Regions from separate parts of the Homo sapiens genome. Here region 1 is linked to region 2. The links are contacts of gene promoters, found by promoter capture Hi-C in blood cells and fetal thymus (Javierre and others, 2016). All regions are on one chromosome and are shown on one strand. The core of a region is centred on a gene start or on the middle of the fragment in contact, and the rest is flanking DNA. Distances in the headings are between cores, read along the strand shown.

What was found. Contacts are between HindIII fragments. The CHiCAGO score rates a contact against its expected background, and 5 or more counts as called.
Region 1: the fragment with the promoter of CD1E here is called in contact with the fragment with the promoter of CD1A in region 2 in 1 of 17 cell types (fetal thymus); the score reaches 5.0 in fetal thymus.

The regions. Positions count from the first base shown.
Region 1 is chr1:158,348,692-158,356,155 of GRCh38, forward strand. It overlaps CD1E (CD1e molecule), which reads left to right and starts at 5,203. Exons shown (of 6, transcript NM_030893.4): 1 at 5,203-5,355; 2 at 5,686-5,982; 3 at 6,609-6,878; 4 at 7,136-7,414. The coding sequence starts at 5,298. The HindIII fragment of the contact is 6,143 bases long and covers 1-5,953 here.
Region 2 is chr1:158,250,216-158,257,739 of GRCh38, forward strand. It overlaps CD1A (CD1a molecule), which reads left to right and starts at 4,209. Exons shown (of 6, transcript NM_001763.3): 1 at 4,209-4,512; 2 at 4,869-5,135; 3 at 5,789-6,067; 4 at 6,571-6,849; 5 at 7,206-7,296; 6 at 7,466-7,524. The coding sequence starts at 4,455. The coding sequence ends at 7,475. The HindIII fragment of the contact is 5,152 bases long and covers 696-5,847 here.

The DNA.
Region 1 (7,464 bases), core at 3,953-6,452, 99 kb after region 2:
AGATTAGCTAGATACAGAGTGTGGACACAAAGGTTCTCCAAGGCCCCACCAGAGTAGCTAGATACAGAGTGTTCATTGGTGCATTCACAAACCCTGAGCTAGACACAGGGTGCTGATTGGTGTGTTTACAAACCTTGAGCTAGAGACAGAATGCCAATTGGTGTATTTACAATCCCTGAGCTAGACATAAAGATTCTCCACGTTCCCACCAGACTCAGGATCCCAGCTGGCTTCACCTAGTGGATCCTGCACTGGGGCTGCAGATGGAGCTGCCTGCCAGTCCCCCGCCGTGAACCCGCACTCCTCAGCCCTTGGGTGGTTGATGGGACTGGGCGCCGTGGAGCAGGGGGCTGCGCTCATCGGGGAGGCTCCGGCCGCACAGGAGCCCATGGAGGGGGTGGGAGTCTCAGGCATGGCGGGCTGCAGGTCCCGAGCCCTGCCCCACGGGGAGGCAGCTAAGGCCTGGTGAGAAATCAAGCACAGCGCTGGTGGGCTGGCACTGCTGGGGGATCCAGTACACCCTCCGCAGCCGCTGGCCCGGGTGCTAAGTCTCTCATTGCTCGGGGCCGGCAGGGCCGGCTGGCTGCTCCGAGTGCAGGCCCGCCAAGCCCACGCCCACCCTGCACTCCAGCTGGAACCGCCCGCAGCCCAGGTTCCCGCTCGCGCCTCTCCCTCCACACCTCCCTGCAAGCTGAGGGAGCCGGCTCCGGCCTTGGCCAGCCCAGAAAGGGGCTCCTACAGTGCAGCGGCGGGCTGAAAGGCTTCTCAAGTGCTGCCAAAGTGGGAGCCCAGGCAGAGGAGGCACCGAGAGCAAGCAAGGTCTGTGAGGACTGCCAGCACGCTGTCACCTCTCAATGCCACTGCACTCCAGCCTGGGTGACAGAGTGAGAATCCGTCTCAAAAAGAAAAAAAAAAGAAAAAATGTAACTATGTGAAGTGATGGATATGGTAATAACTTGACTGTGGCGATTACTTCACAGTATATACATATATCATAACATCATGTTGTGCACCTTAAGTATACCCAATTTAAAAAAAATTAAGGTAGAATATAAATATATAATTTATCATCTTCACCATTTTAAAATGTACAGCTCAGTGGCAATAAATACTTTTTTATACTCAATTTTTATTTGTTGGTTGTACCTCACTAAAGCTGAAAAATATATTTGAATAAATGTTAAAGAAATGTAAGTATACACAAACAAGAAAATAAGTATGTAGAAATTGCAATCTTTCCTGAAAATAAGCCAAAAGAATAAAACTCGTATTTAAATTCTTTGAAAAAAAATTAGCAGATGGAACATTTTCTTACATTTGTACAAATGTACTCAAAAATTTTATTTTAAATCAATTTTAATGAGTTATCTCCCATAAATTTCTTACATAGAAAGATTAAGTTGTCCAAAGGCACATCTTATAATATGTTTTGAGAGAATTTTCTGGTTTTGGCAAAAGGGGATCTGCGAATGTGACTGGGGCAGCCTCAGGAAAACATAAGAGGGGGAATTTCTTTTTAAAAGAGACCTCTGGCCACAGACACTAAGTATTTTTAGTAAAAAATGTGGTTAGGCACTGATGGAATATTTTTTTTTTTTTTTTTTTTGAGACGGAGTCTTTCTCTGTTGCCCAGGCTGGAGTGCAGTGGCACAATCTTGGCTCACTGCAACCTCTGCCTCCCAGGTTCAAGCGATTCTCTTGCCTCAGCTTCTCGAATAGCTGGGACCATAGGCACGTGCCACCACGCCCTGCTAATTTTTTTGTATTTTTAGTAGAGAGGGGTTTCACCGTGTTAGCCAGGATGGTCTCGATCTCCTGACCTCCTGATCTGCCTGCCTCGGCCTCCCAAAGTGCTGGGATTACAGGAGTGAGCCACTGTGCCTGGCCCACTGATGGAATTTTGTAAAGCAGGAAGGAAATAATTGTACCATATAATGTTACAAAAATTAAAATTAATATATATTTTTTCTTTGGAATTTATCTTCTGGATAATTTTAATTTAGAAGGAATTTCATTATTTTGTTAATGATTATGGGGTTGCTGTCAGACATTATTTCTACTTTGCTCAGTAATTTGCAGTTATCTGTGAGTTCTGTAGCCTCAAAATTAAAAACTAGGGTGTGGTTATCTTTACTTACATAAAAGTGCAATTTTTTGTGGAATAACAACATTGTTTTATTCTCTAAATATACTTTGCTTTATTTTACTTTGCAAATGATTTTAAAATTCTCCCTCTTTTTTTTTTTTTTGAAACAGAGTCACACTCTCCTGCCCAGGATGTAGTACAGTGGCACAATCTCAGTTCCCTGCAATCTCCACCTCCTAGGCTCAAGCAATTCTCCTGCCTCAGCCTCCTGAGTAGCTGGAATTACAGGCACACATCATGGCACCTGGCTAATTTTTACTTTTTTTGGTAGAGACAGGGTTTCGCCATGTTGGCAAGGCTGGTCTCGAATTCGCCTGCCTTGGCTTCCCAAAGTGCTGGGATTACGGGTGTGAGCCACCGTGCCTGGCCTGATTCAAAAATTCTAATGGCCGGGGCACGGTTGCTCACGCCTGTAATCTCAGCACTTTGGGAGGCCGAGGCGGGTGGATCACGAGGTCAGGAGATCGAGACCGTCTTGGTCAACATGAAGAAACCCTGTCTCTACTAAAAATACAAAAAATAGATGGTCATGGTGGCTCTTGCCTGTAATCCCAGCTGCTCAGGAGGCTGAGGCAGGAGAGTCGTTTGAACCAGGGATTCGGGGGTTGCAATGAGCCGAGATCCTGTGGCTGCACTGCAGCCTGGGCAACAGAGCAAGACAGCAAGACTCCGTCTCAGGAAAAAACAAAACAAAACAAAAATTCTAAGGAATACAGTTACTTGTAGTATTGATGTTTGGCATAGGTCATTCCAATCTTTTTATTATGTATTATTGTTTTTGTAGGTTATTATATATTCTCTTGAATATTTATCTTTGTTTACTGTTCATAATTTTATTATGAAACCAATTTTGGATTTACATAGCGATTTATAGATAGATTTACATAGCAACTTATAGCTTTGAATGTATTTGTAGAAAAGAAAGAGTATTGAAAATAAATGTAGACATTCTACTCAGGAAACAAGGAAACTTTTTTTAATCTTTCTTTAACCTTAGAATTTAGAAATGATAATAAGATGAAACTAGGTTTGGACCTTTTTCTTTTGTTTTTTTGTTTGCAGTTTTTTTTTCTTTTTTTAATTATTTTTATTTATTTATTTATTTTTTATTATTATACTTTAAGTTCTAGGGTACATGTGCACAACGTGAAGGTTTGTTACATATGTATACATGTGTCGTGTTGGTGTGCTGCACCCATTAACTCGTCATTTACATTAGGTATATCTCTTAATGCTATCCCTCCCCCCTCCCCCCACCCCACAACAGGCCCCGGTGTGTGATGTTCCTCTTCCTGTGTCCATGTGTTCTCATTGTTCAATTCCCACCTATGAGTGAGAACATGCGGTGTTTGGTTTTTTGTCCTTGTGATAGTTTGCTGAGAATGATGGTTTCCAGCTTCATCCATGTCCCTACAAAGGACATGAACTCATCATTTTTTATGGCTGCATAGTATTTCATGGTGTATATGTGCCACATTTTCTTAATCCAGTCTATCATTGTTGGACATTTGGGTTGGTTCCAAGTCTTTGTTATTGTGAATAGTGCCACAATAAACATACGTGTGCATGTGTCTTTATAGCAACATGATTTATAATCCTTTGTGTATATACCCAGTAATGGGATGGCTGGGTCAAATGGTATTTCTAGTTCTAGATCCCTGAGGAATCGCCACCCTGACTTCCACAATGGTTGAACTAGTTTACAGTCCCACCAACAGTGTAAAAGTGTTCCTATTTCTCCACATCCTCTCCAGCACCTCTCCAGCACAGAAAGAGTATTGAAAATAAATGTAGATATTCTACTCAGGAAACAAGGAAACTTTTTATCTTTCTTTTAACTTAGAATTTAGAAATGATAATAAGATGAAACTAGGTTTGGACCTTTTTCAATAATTCTGACCACCGTTCAGTAAATTTACTGTATAAGAAAAGTAGAGGTTTGGGGTTGAATTTTGTTTTATTTTTTCCCAAAGATGTCTATCTCTGATATCTTAGGGCCTGGCAATTGTTTTTGGTCATAGGTGGGCTCTGAATAAATGTCAGTTGAACAAATATATAAAAACCAAACAAAGGAATGTTATTTCAACTGCCTTCAGAGTGTCACAACAAATATCAATGAAAAAGAAACAAAAATAAAGACTCAATTAATTCTCCAGTGAACACTTCAGTCCTCTAAAGGTACTTCCCTGTGTCCACCCAAACTGCTCTCTAACCGAACGCAAGCAAGGGGACTCCAATGCTCTCAGGCCATGAACTAATGAGGAGCTTCATGCCTGCCCTCAGTCTTTCTTCATACCCAGGGCAAAGCTGGCCCACAGACTTCCAGACATGCTTTCTTCGTTTGGGTAGAGATGGGGATCCAAGTCCCCTATGTATTTCCTCCAGAGCCACCTGTAAAACATGGGTGAAATCTACCTGCCCTCTAGCTCACCACTTCCAGGTCAAGCCCACTCATGGACCACTTTAACAGTGACAGTTGGCTTGACTGGGGAAACTGAAAAAAAGGAGCTTTCTTTAGATTTTCTGATAATCTGCATTGCCATTGCTGCTCCTTTTTCAGCAGCACAGAGAGTTGGATTATGGAGGGTTGCCTGCTTATTATGCAGCTACATCCAGGATGCTGAGTGTCTTCTGATCATGATCAAGAGCAGAGTGAAGAGATACAGGCGGAGGAGAGGATCACAGAGAGGTAGAAGTGGGAGACTGGTGGATAGGTCACTAGGCACCACTGAGTGACTACCATCACTTCTCACAGATTAGATTATTGACAAGCCAAGTATGGATTTGATTTCTACAAGGCCAAAAGCTACTCCATCTTCTAGCCAGACCACAGACTTTGTTTTAAGCCAGGACTCGTTTTCCAGCAGTTAGTGCAATTAGGGAGGTTGGGAGGATGTACACAAGAGCAGGGAGAAAATCTGGAGCCAGACAGTGAGAGAGGCAGAGGGGAAATGAAAAACCCCGTGGGAGGCTGCAGCAAAGCGAGGCAGTGTGGCTTCTCTGACAGGGAAGTCAGCAGAGGGAGAGGTTTGTCTGTCTGTACAGCAAGGGAAGTCAGACGAGAGTGCAAGAGGGTGTGGAGAGGGGTACTGATATCTGAATTATTAGGGCAGGTGTCCTGCCAAGGAATCCCTCCTTTAACAGAGCTTCAATGCTGCTCCTGTTCCTCCTCTTCGAGGGTCTCTGCTGTCCTGGGGAAAATACAGCAGGTAAGAAGAGTGCAGGTGGAAAGATACCTATGGTAGGGCACCAGAGGGCTGAGAGGAAGCTCTGGGGAGGTCCTGGGGGAAGGGAGCAGTACTCTTCTAGGATGCCCTTGGAATATGCCTTTCAGGCTAGTTCCAGGCAGAGAATTCTTGCTCTCAGTCTCAGTTTTTGTCTCTGATTTTGGAGAAAGGAAGCTGGCCCCACAGGAAAAGGGTATTGGAGTATGTACAAGCTACCTAACTGTCTCTCATCTCTGGGTTCCTTTTTTCCCTTTGGCATCACTTTTCCCATCCCTTTACATTCTCTCTACTTGTCATTTCCCTCTCTCTCAGCTCCCCAGGCTCTACAATCCTATCATCTAGCAGCAGAGGAGCAGCTGTCCTTCCGCATGCTCCAAACTTCCTCCTTTGCCAACCACAGCTGGGCACACAGTGAGGGCTCAGGATGGCTGGGTGACCTGCAGACTCATGGCTGGGACACTGTCTTGGGCACCATCCGCTTTCTGAAGCCCTGGTCCCATGGAAACTTCAGCAAGCAGGAGCTGAAAAACTTACAGTCACTGTTCCAGTTATACTTCCATAGTTTTATCCAGATAGTGCAAGCTTCTGCTGGTCAATTTCAGCTTGAATGTAAGTTCGTTGCTCTAAGCTGATAATTTGCCTGGGAACACCAACTATTTTCCAAAGTGGAAGATAGTATATAGACTCTGACCATCATTTAACCTTACTAACCTTGTTCCCCACTCTCTGACTCCCACTCCCTCCTCTGCTTCACCCTTCACCACCACCCACACTCCACCATATACACAAAAGGGCCTGCATGTACATATCTCAACATGAATATAGCTTCATGTCTGGCTCTTTGGAATGATTGTCTCCTCTGGATCTTCTGCCCCTCATTCCTGCCCTCAGACTCAGCCTTTCTCAACCCTCTTTCTGCCCTTCTTTATCCTTTGCCTGAGTGTTGACATGGACTGGCCTGTACCTAACCACTTTCACGTGAATTATTTATGACCAATCTCCTATCTTCCTGATAGCCTTCCCATCTACCACTTTCCCATTAGTTATTTCAAAGTATCTTTATTATCTTCAAATTTTCTTCCCACAAATTTTCTTCCCCTTTGCCAGTAAACTCTAGTCTCCATATGATTTCCCAGCAAATTTTTCTTCCCTTGAATCTCTTTACTGTCTAAATTGTTTGTTTTTCTTCCTTGTCATTCTTTCCATAATGATCTCTCTTCCCTGTCCACTCTCAGACCCCTTCGAGATCCAGATATTAGCTGGCTGTAGAATGAATGCCCCACAAATCTTCTTAAATATGGCATATCAAGGGTCAGATTTCCTGAGTTTCCAAGGAATTTCCTGGGAGCCATCTCCAGGAGCAGGGATCCGGGCCCAGAACATCTGTAAAGTGCTCAATCGCTACCTAGATATTAAGGAAATACTGCAAAGCCTTCTTGGTCACACCTGCCCTCGATTTCTAGCGGGGCTCATGGAAGCAGGGGAGTCAGAACTGAAACGGAAAGGTGAGCCCAACTCTCTCTCTCCCCTCTTGTTCCTAGTACTATAACTCTCATATTTGAATTTGCCTCTCATCATCATTTTGAAAGACATAGTGAGAGACTAGAGAATGAGATGTGTGGGTTCAGGACTGTTTCTTAGACAAGAGAAAGAAGTGATTACTAAATCACTCTTAGTATTATTACAAAGGCACCTGAGTCTCTGAGCTCTGGCCTGGGGTGCCCTTCAAAATTCCATTTTTTTTCTATCTTCTTCTTCCTAGTGAAGCCAGAGGCCTGGCTGTCCTGTGGCCCCAGTCCTGGCCCTGGCCGTCTGCAGCTTGTGTGCCATGTCTCAGGATTCTACCCAAAGCCCGTGTGGGTGATGTGGATGCGGGGTGAGCAGGAGCAGCGGGGCACTCAGCGAGGGGACGTCCTGCCTAATGCTGACGAGACATGGTATCTCCGAGCAACCCTGGATGTGGCGGCTGGGGAGGCAGCTGGCCTGTCCTGTCGGGTGAAACACAGCAGTCTAGGGGGCCATGATCTAATCATCCATTGGGGTGAGAAACAGCTGAGGCTCTGCTGGGAAATAATGAAAATAGCCCTGGGG
Region 2 (7,524 bases), core at 2,959-5,458:
AGGGCAAGAATTGCCTGTGGCCCCAGACATTGGGGAGCAGATGGCAGAGAATCAGTGCTGGGGAGGTGAAGTGATGGGAGCCAAGACCACATGTCAGCAAAGAAGCCCTCACACAAGTTTTTTTTGGCTCATTTGACTTCATTTATAAAACACACATTAAGATAAAATTATGAAGAATTTAAGGATGATGATCATAGGGCATCAACTATGATGCTGCATTGGTTGCGTGCCCCATGAAGCAAGCCCGGGATATACAATACACCGATTAACTCACTATTTGGGGGATGATCCTGACTTTGTCTCTTTACAACCTTCGGAAAATTTTGCCTCTTTCAGACTTTCCATCCTACAACTCTGGTTAGCTCAGTCTTCCCCAACCATTTCTGCCATCTTCCACCTTGGTCTCAGTCATGCGGATGTCTTGTGCCTGATCAGACCAATGTTGGTCCTCTCTTCCTATCTCTCTCACCTTTTCATTCCCTGCTCTTTGCATTAACTTGGGAAACATTTGTGTGTGTATGCTAGCTTTAGTGCCCTCATTTTGTTACCTTGGCGTGAAGTCTGCCGTCCCTGCAGCTCTATTTCATTTGAATGAGGGAGAAGCCTCATAAAGTTTTAAAAGAGCTTTTTAAGGATTACAGTCCCTATATCTCTAAGGTTTTCCCAGGACCCATTCCACATGAGAAATCAGGATAAGCTTGCTAAACTTGTACAGCTGACCCTTGAATAACATGGGGGTTAGGAGTGATGACGGCCCCGTGCAGTCAAAAATCCATGTATAACTTTTGACTTTTCCAAATCTTAACTATGAATAGCCTACTATTGGCTGGAAGCCTTACTGCTAACATAAACAGTTGATGAACATATATTTTGTATGTTATATGTATTATATATGATATTCTTAAAGTAAGCAAGAGAAAAGAAAATATTTTAAAGAAAATCAGAAGGGAGAGAAAATATATCTGCTATTTATTAAGTGGATCATCACATGTTCGTCTTCATTGTCTTCATGTACAGTAGGCAGAAGAGGAGGAGGAAGAGGAGTTGCCTTGTCTTAGTGGTGGCAGAGTCAGAAGAAAATCCACGTGTGAGTAAATGCACACAGTTGAAACCCATGTTATTCAAGAGTGAACTGCAGTGTGAGGGTTTGAGTCAATCTAGTCTGGAGCTAACTGGGTTTGCTGTTTTGCTGTTGCTGCAATAGTCTTCAAGTTCCTCTACATTGCTCTGTTCCTAGGGTGGGGCTGGTTTGCCAGAAGGTTTTGTTAATGTCTCCACTCTCAGGTTTTGGTGTTTCCTTTGTGAAATATCTCTAGAGGACCTACCTCCATGCTTTCCATTCTTCTAGCTGCAGACTCGTCTTGTAATTGATATTTATGATACTGCTTGGGAGAAGGAGTAAGAGCACTGTCTTTTGTTCTGGTGCAGTCTCATTCTTAGGCAGGTCAGTTGTTTTTGAATTTTTTGAAGTTTTGTCATGTAAGTGTTCCTGCCTTTCTTCCAGCAGTTTGGGACCTCTAATAGTCTGGAACCAGGATGTTTTCTCGTTCTTTCCCATTGTTTTTCTTCTCCTCAGCTGCAGTGGGTTTTCACATATGCCCTGAGGGCAGCAGGGCTTTCTGCCCTTTCCCCACCAGGTTAGGGCTTTTTTTTTTCTTTTAGATGGAATATTGCTCTGTCACCCAGGCTGGAGTGCAGTGGCGCGATCTCGGCTCACTGCAACCTCCGCCTCCCGGGTTCAAGTAGCTGAGACTACAGGTGTGCACCACCACAACTGGCTAATTTTTGTATTATTACTACAGATGGGGTTGCACCATGTTGGCCAGGTTGGTCTCGAACTCCTGACCTTGTGATCCGCCCACGTTGGCCTCCCAAAGTGCTGAGATTACAGGTGTGAGCCACCGCACCCGGCCACGGTTTTTTTTTTTTTCTATGTTGCAATAGAGGAGATGGGTCTGGTTGGGACTTACTACCCTTCCCATGCAGTAGCTGTTCTCATACCTCAGGCCCGCATCATGAGAGAGGATTTATCTGGTCTACATCTCTGACCCTAATGTTTCAGAAGACCCTGGTGAGGTTCATAGAAAAAGGCTTAGAGACTGATGCGAATTTCCCTGTTTTTGTGACTCCCAGGGCTTCTATATACTCATGCTAGCCTTTACTAATTTGTCTAAAATTTTAGCTGAATTCTTATTCTTACTGGCTTGTATAATATCTGGCATCTGTCCCAAGTAAACAAGGGTTTGCATTCCATCTGTCCTTTGAGGAGTCTGTCTTTCTTTATATTTTGGGTTAACTGGTTGCCTTGATATTTCAGTTCTTTGATAAATTCAAGTTATGATTTTGATAATCTGGCTTCAAAAAATTATAAGTATGAAAATGAAGCTCTTTCCAGCTTTTTGCATGCTAATCTTAACTTTAAAAAAATTATCTGTAATCCCAGCACTTTGGGAGGCTGAGGCAGGTGGATCATCTGAGGTCAGGAGTTTGAGACCAACATGGTGAAACCCCATCTCTATTAATAATATCAAAGTTAGCCAGGCATGGTGGTGCATACCTGTAATCCCAGTTACTTGCAAAACCGAGGCAGGACAATTGCTTTAACCTGGGAGGCAGAGGTTGCAGTGAGCTGAGATCATGCCACTGAACTCCAGCCTGGGTGACAGAGTGAGACTCTGTCTCAAAACAAAACAAAACAAAACAAAACAAAAAACAAATAAAAAAATTATTTGCAGGCCATGCCTGGTGGCTCATGCCAACAATCCCAGCACTTTGGGAGGCTGACACAGGAGGATTGCTTGAGGCCGGGAGTTGGAGGTTACAGTGAGCTATGATTATTCCACTGCACTCCAGCCTGAGTAACAGAGTGAAACCCTGTCTCAAGAAAAAAAATTTTTTCCCCCTAAATTAGCTTCAGATACTTTTTTTTTGAAAACCAAAAAATAGTAAATAGCCCAGACACATTTATATGGATGATATCTACAAAGCACAAACATATATTTAGAAGCCCTTCAACAGTTACAAGCAGCGTAAAAGAGGAATGTAAATGTGTCCGGCAAAGACTCATTTATAACAAAACAACCCTGAAACATCCAAATAGGACTAATAAAAAGGGATCCTGGGATAAAGACTTTGGAATACTCCATTAACTTCACTGCTCACAAGTTCTGACTAGTTTCTTATAAGTAATAGGACATTTATAGCAGGATCTTTTATGTAAATCTCATGCCAGTAACTTGTACTTTTATCCTAAATAAAACTGTATGAGATTCTCATCTCACTACATAGGGTTACAAGTAACTTTTATGATATCTTTAAAAAGTTTCATGTTGAATATCACCTCCATAATTAAAAAATGGATGCATAGACTGAATTCATTCATTCATTTGACAAATATTCACTAAGCACCTACCACTTGTGAGATACTCTGTTAGGTGGGGATACAGTATGATAACTGTATGGAACTAACACTCCAAGTCAAACATTGAAGTCAAAATTCTGGGCTGGCGTACATTAGTTAGGAGCCCCCATTTTAGAAAATATTATTTCAAGCAGGCCTTGTTTTTATCCAGAGAGTGTATACAGTATAATAAAACTCAGTACACCAAGATTTATATTTCATGGCGTGTTTTTCTCCCTAAGTAGAGAAAAAGCTCCTTCAGTAAAGTGATTGTGTTGTCAACCACTGCATATTCTTAAGTGTACCAAGATGCTTGACTCCAGGCAGGTGCTAAGAGAGACTGTTGGGTGAGTGAATGTATATCAATGAAAATCAAACAGAGGAAATTTTCTTTATATGTTTTAGTGTTCCTGTGGTTTTTTTTTTTTTTTTTTTTTTTTTTTTTTTTTTTTTTTTTGTGATGGTTACTGGCTCTTCTCTAAGAATAATGGAGAAAAGGTGTTAGTTTGTACTGTCGCACAGGGCAGTCGTAGGAGACTCTGAAAAAGCAAATAAATCAATGTTAAATCAGAAATGTGAATGTAGTAAGGGGCTGAAGAGACAGGGGAAGAGAATACATGGGAAAATATTGAAAAGGACAGAGTGATCAAAAAGAGCAGGGACATGGGAGCATTGGGCAGCACACTGGGAGCCATTTCACTTTATGCTCTTATTGTATGATTGAGAAAAAAATGTCCTTAGTGGTTAAGTGGCTTTTCAATGCCACATCAGACTTGTTCCATAGCAGTTGAATTAGGGGAAGGTGAATAAGTTGGAGGTTGGTGACAAGGAGAGAAGCTGGAACAGAGAGGAGAGTCAGAACCAGAGGGAAATGAGAGACTGAGTAGGCATCTCAGGGTTTTTGAAGGAGTGGATTTTCTTTGTTGCAGTCAGGGGAGGTTTGTCTGTTGGCTGCAGAAAGAAGTCAGAATAGAGATATCGTGGGGTAGGTTTGTTTGGAACAGAAATCAAAGACCAATTTTTCTGAGAGAAGGAAATAACATCTGCAAATGATATGCTGTTTTTGCTACTTCCATTGTTAGCTGTTCTCCCAGGTGATGGCAATGCAGACGGTAAGAACTCTGACAACTGCCCAGTTGGGTGGTGGGTGAAGGTCTCTCTCTCTCTCTCTGTGTGTGTGTGTGTGTGTGTGTGTGTGTGTGTGTGTGTGTGTGTGTGGTTTCCCTAGCATATACCTGGAAAGTGAGAGTGCCAGGCTGGTTCCATTCTGACTATCCATGACTCCAGGTCCCTGAGCTCTTATGAAGGTGGTTGATAAGGCATGGGACTGTGTGGCAAGTGAATGTCTGCTAAGATCATGATGGATCCCCTTTTCTCCAGATTCTGAGTTCCCGCACTCTGGCACCTTTCTCTCTCCATCCTCTTTCTCAATGTCTTTCTCCCCATTCTATCTGTTCTTTTGTCGCAGGGCTCAAGGAGCCTCTCTCCTTCCATGTCACCTGGATCGCATCCTTTTACAACCATTCCTGGAAACAAAATCTGGTCTCAGGTTGGCTGAGTGATTTGCAGACTCATACCTGGGACAGCAATTCCAGCACCATCGTTTTCCTGTGCCCCTGGTCCAGGGGAAACTTCAGCAATGAGGAGTGGAAGGAACTGGAAACATTATTCCGTATACGCACCATTCGGTCATTTGAGGGAATTCGTAGATACGCCCATGAATTGCAGTTTGAATGTGAGTTCAGTTTTCTCCATGGAGAGTGGTGAGGTGGGAGAGAGGGGTTGTCTCAATGTTTCTTATTCCTTTAGGAAACAGCCTGACTCTCTTCTGTATCTTATTCTATTCTTTCCACCATAAAACTGCAATTGCATACTTTTGGGCAAGGGCTATCATCCAGACCTTAATTCTCCAAACACTTCTGCTACTTATGAACTCCTCTCTCATTGATTGCAGGGTTGTGCATTATTATCTTTTCTTACAGGTATCCCAGGACCACCCTTCTGCCTGCCCTACAACCAGATACCTTCAGCTTTCTCACTTTCTCATTCATTCTCTTCAGCAGTCTCTCTATATATACTCAATTGTAACCCATTGCATTTAATTCAACCTAAGTTGTTATAATCCCAGTTCTCTTACACCAGGTCCTTGCTCACCCACAGCATTCACATCACCTTCTTTGACCAGTTTGCCCTCTTCCTCATGTTATTAATCTTTTCCTCCACCTACAGCTCCCACCAATTCCTCTTTCTCTGAATCCCTGACCAAACCAAATTTTATTCCATTATGTCAAACCCTGCACACTTCCCCCTTCTGCTTCTATAATCTTTGCTTCTACTCATTTCATTTTATATTTTTTTCTCCCTCTTTCCTCTATTTCATAACCCCAGATCCTTTTGAGATACAGGTGACAGGAGGCTGTGAGCTGCACTCTGGAAAGGTCTCAGGAAGCTTCTTGCAGTTAGCTTATCAAGGATCAGACTTTGTGAGCTTCCAGAACAATTCATGGTTGCCATATCCAGTGGCTGGGAATATGGCCAAGCATTTCTGCAAAGTGCTCAATCAGAATCAGCATGAAAATGACATAACACACAATCTTCTCAGTGACACCTGCCCACGTTTCATCTTGGGTCTTCTTGATGCAGGAAAGGCACATCTCCAGCGGCAAGGTCAGTCCTGCACTCTCCCTCCAAGAAGTTTTGATTTGAAAATCATACCCTTCCACCACCTCCTTCCAATTTAGAATAAGGAAGAGCCACCCAGAAGTGGGAAAGGCTGGGTGCAGTGCCTCACATCTGTAATCCCAGTACTTTGGGAAGCTGAGGCTGGAGGACTTCTTAAGGGCAGGAGTCCCAGACCAGCCTGAGCAACAGAGTGAGACCAGTGTCTCTAAAAAATAAAAATAAGTTAGCCAGTCATGGTGGTACACACCTGTAGTCCCAGTTACTTAAGAGGCTGAGGCAGGAGGATCGCTTGAGCCTAACAGTTTGAGGTTACAGTGAGCTATAATTTATAATTATGCCACTGCATTGCAGCATAGTGACAGAGTGAGACCCTGTCTCAAAAAAAAAAAAAAGAGAAATGGGAACAATGTGTCTATCTAAACTTCTAAACTGTTGTGGAGATATGAAACTCCAAGTCTGTATTTGAATATCTTTTCTGTCCTTTGCAGTGAAGCCCGAGGCCTGGCTGTCCCATGGCCCCAGTCCTGGCCCTGGCCATCTGCAGCTTGTGTGCCATGTCTCAGGATTCTACCCAAAGCCCGTGTGGGTGATGTGGATGCGGGGTGAGCAGGAGCAGCAGGGCACTCAGCGAGGGGACATCTTGCCCAGTGCTGATGGGACATGGTATCTCCGCGCAACCCTGGAGGTGGCCGCTGGGGAGGCAGCTGACCTGTCCTGTCGGGTGAAGCACAGCAGTCTAGAGGGCCAGGACATCGTCCTCTACTGGGGTGAGAAAAAGCTAAGGCCCAGGCTGGAAATGCCAGGAAGTGGACCTCAGGCATAGAGGGAGGGCAAGCTGAAAATTTTAGGATTTTAGGGATTATAGCCCAAACATGAATAAAAATAGATAATCTAAGAAATGGAAATGTTGAAAATGAGGGCCCTGTAGATGCAGGAGGATGCTGAGGGTTAACTGAAGAATCCATCTCTGAGCAGGGATGAGAGAAAAACATAGAAAAAAAGGAGATTGGTAAGTTGGATACTCAAATGAAAAAAAGAAGCCCAGGGAATGCAGTGAAATAGGGAGTGGATGAGGTAAAATGGGATGGATTATAACATCCTTGGTGTCTCCCCAAATTCACAGAGCATCACAGTTCCGTGGGCTTCATCATCTTGGCGGTGATAGTGCCTTTACTTCTTCTGATAGGTCTTGCGCTTTGGTTCAGGAAACGCTGGTGAGTTCTTTGCATGTGTCTTTCCTACTCTTAGCCTCTACCCCACTTTTCTTCCCATGTTTTTTGTTTTTCTCTCCTCAGTTCTTCTCTCCCCAGTCCCCTTCCCTCTTGCTCCTCAATTCTCAGCTCCACCTTATTCAGAGTGACTTCTATCTCTGTTCTCATCCAGTTTCTGTTAAGACACACCATGAGCCTCCTCGTCACCCTTCTCCTTTTGGGGTGAGAGAC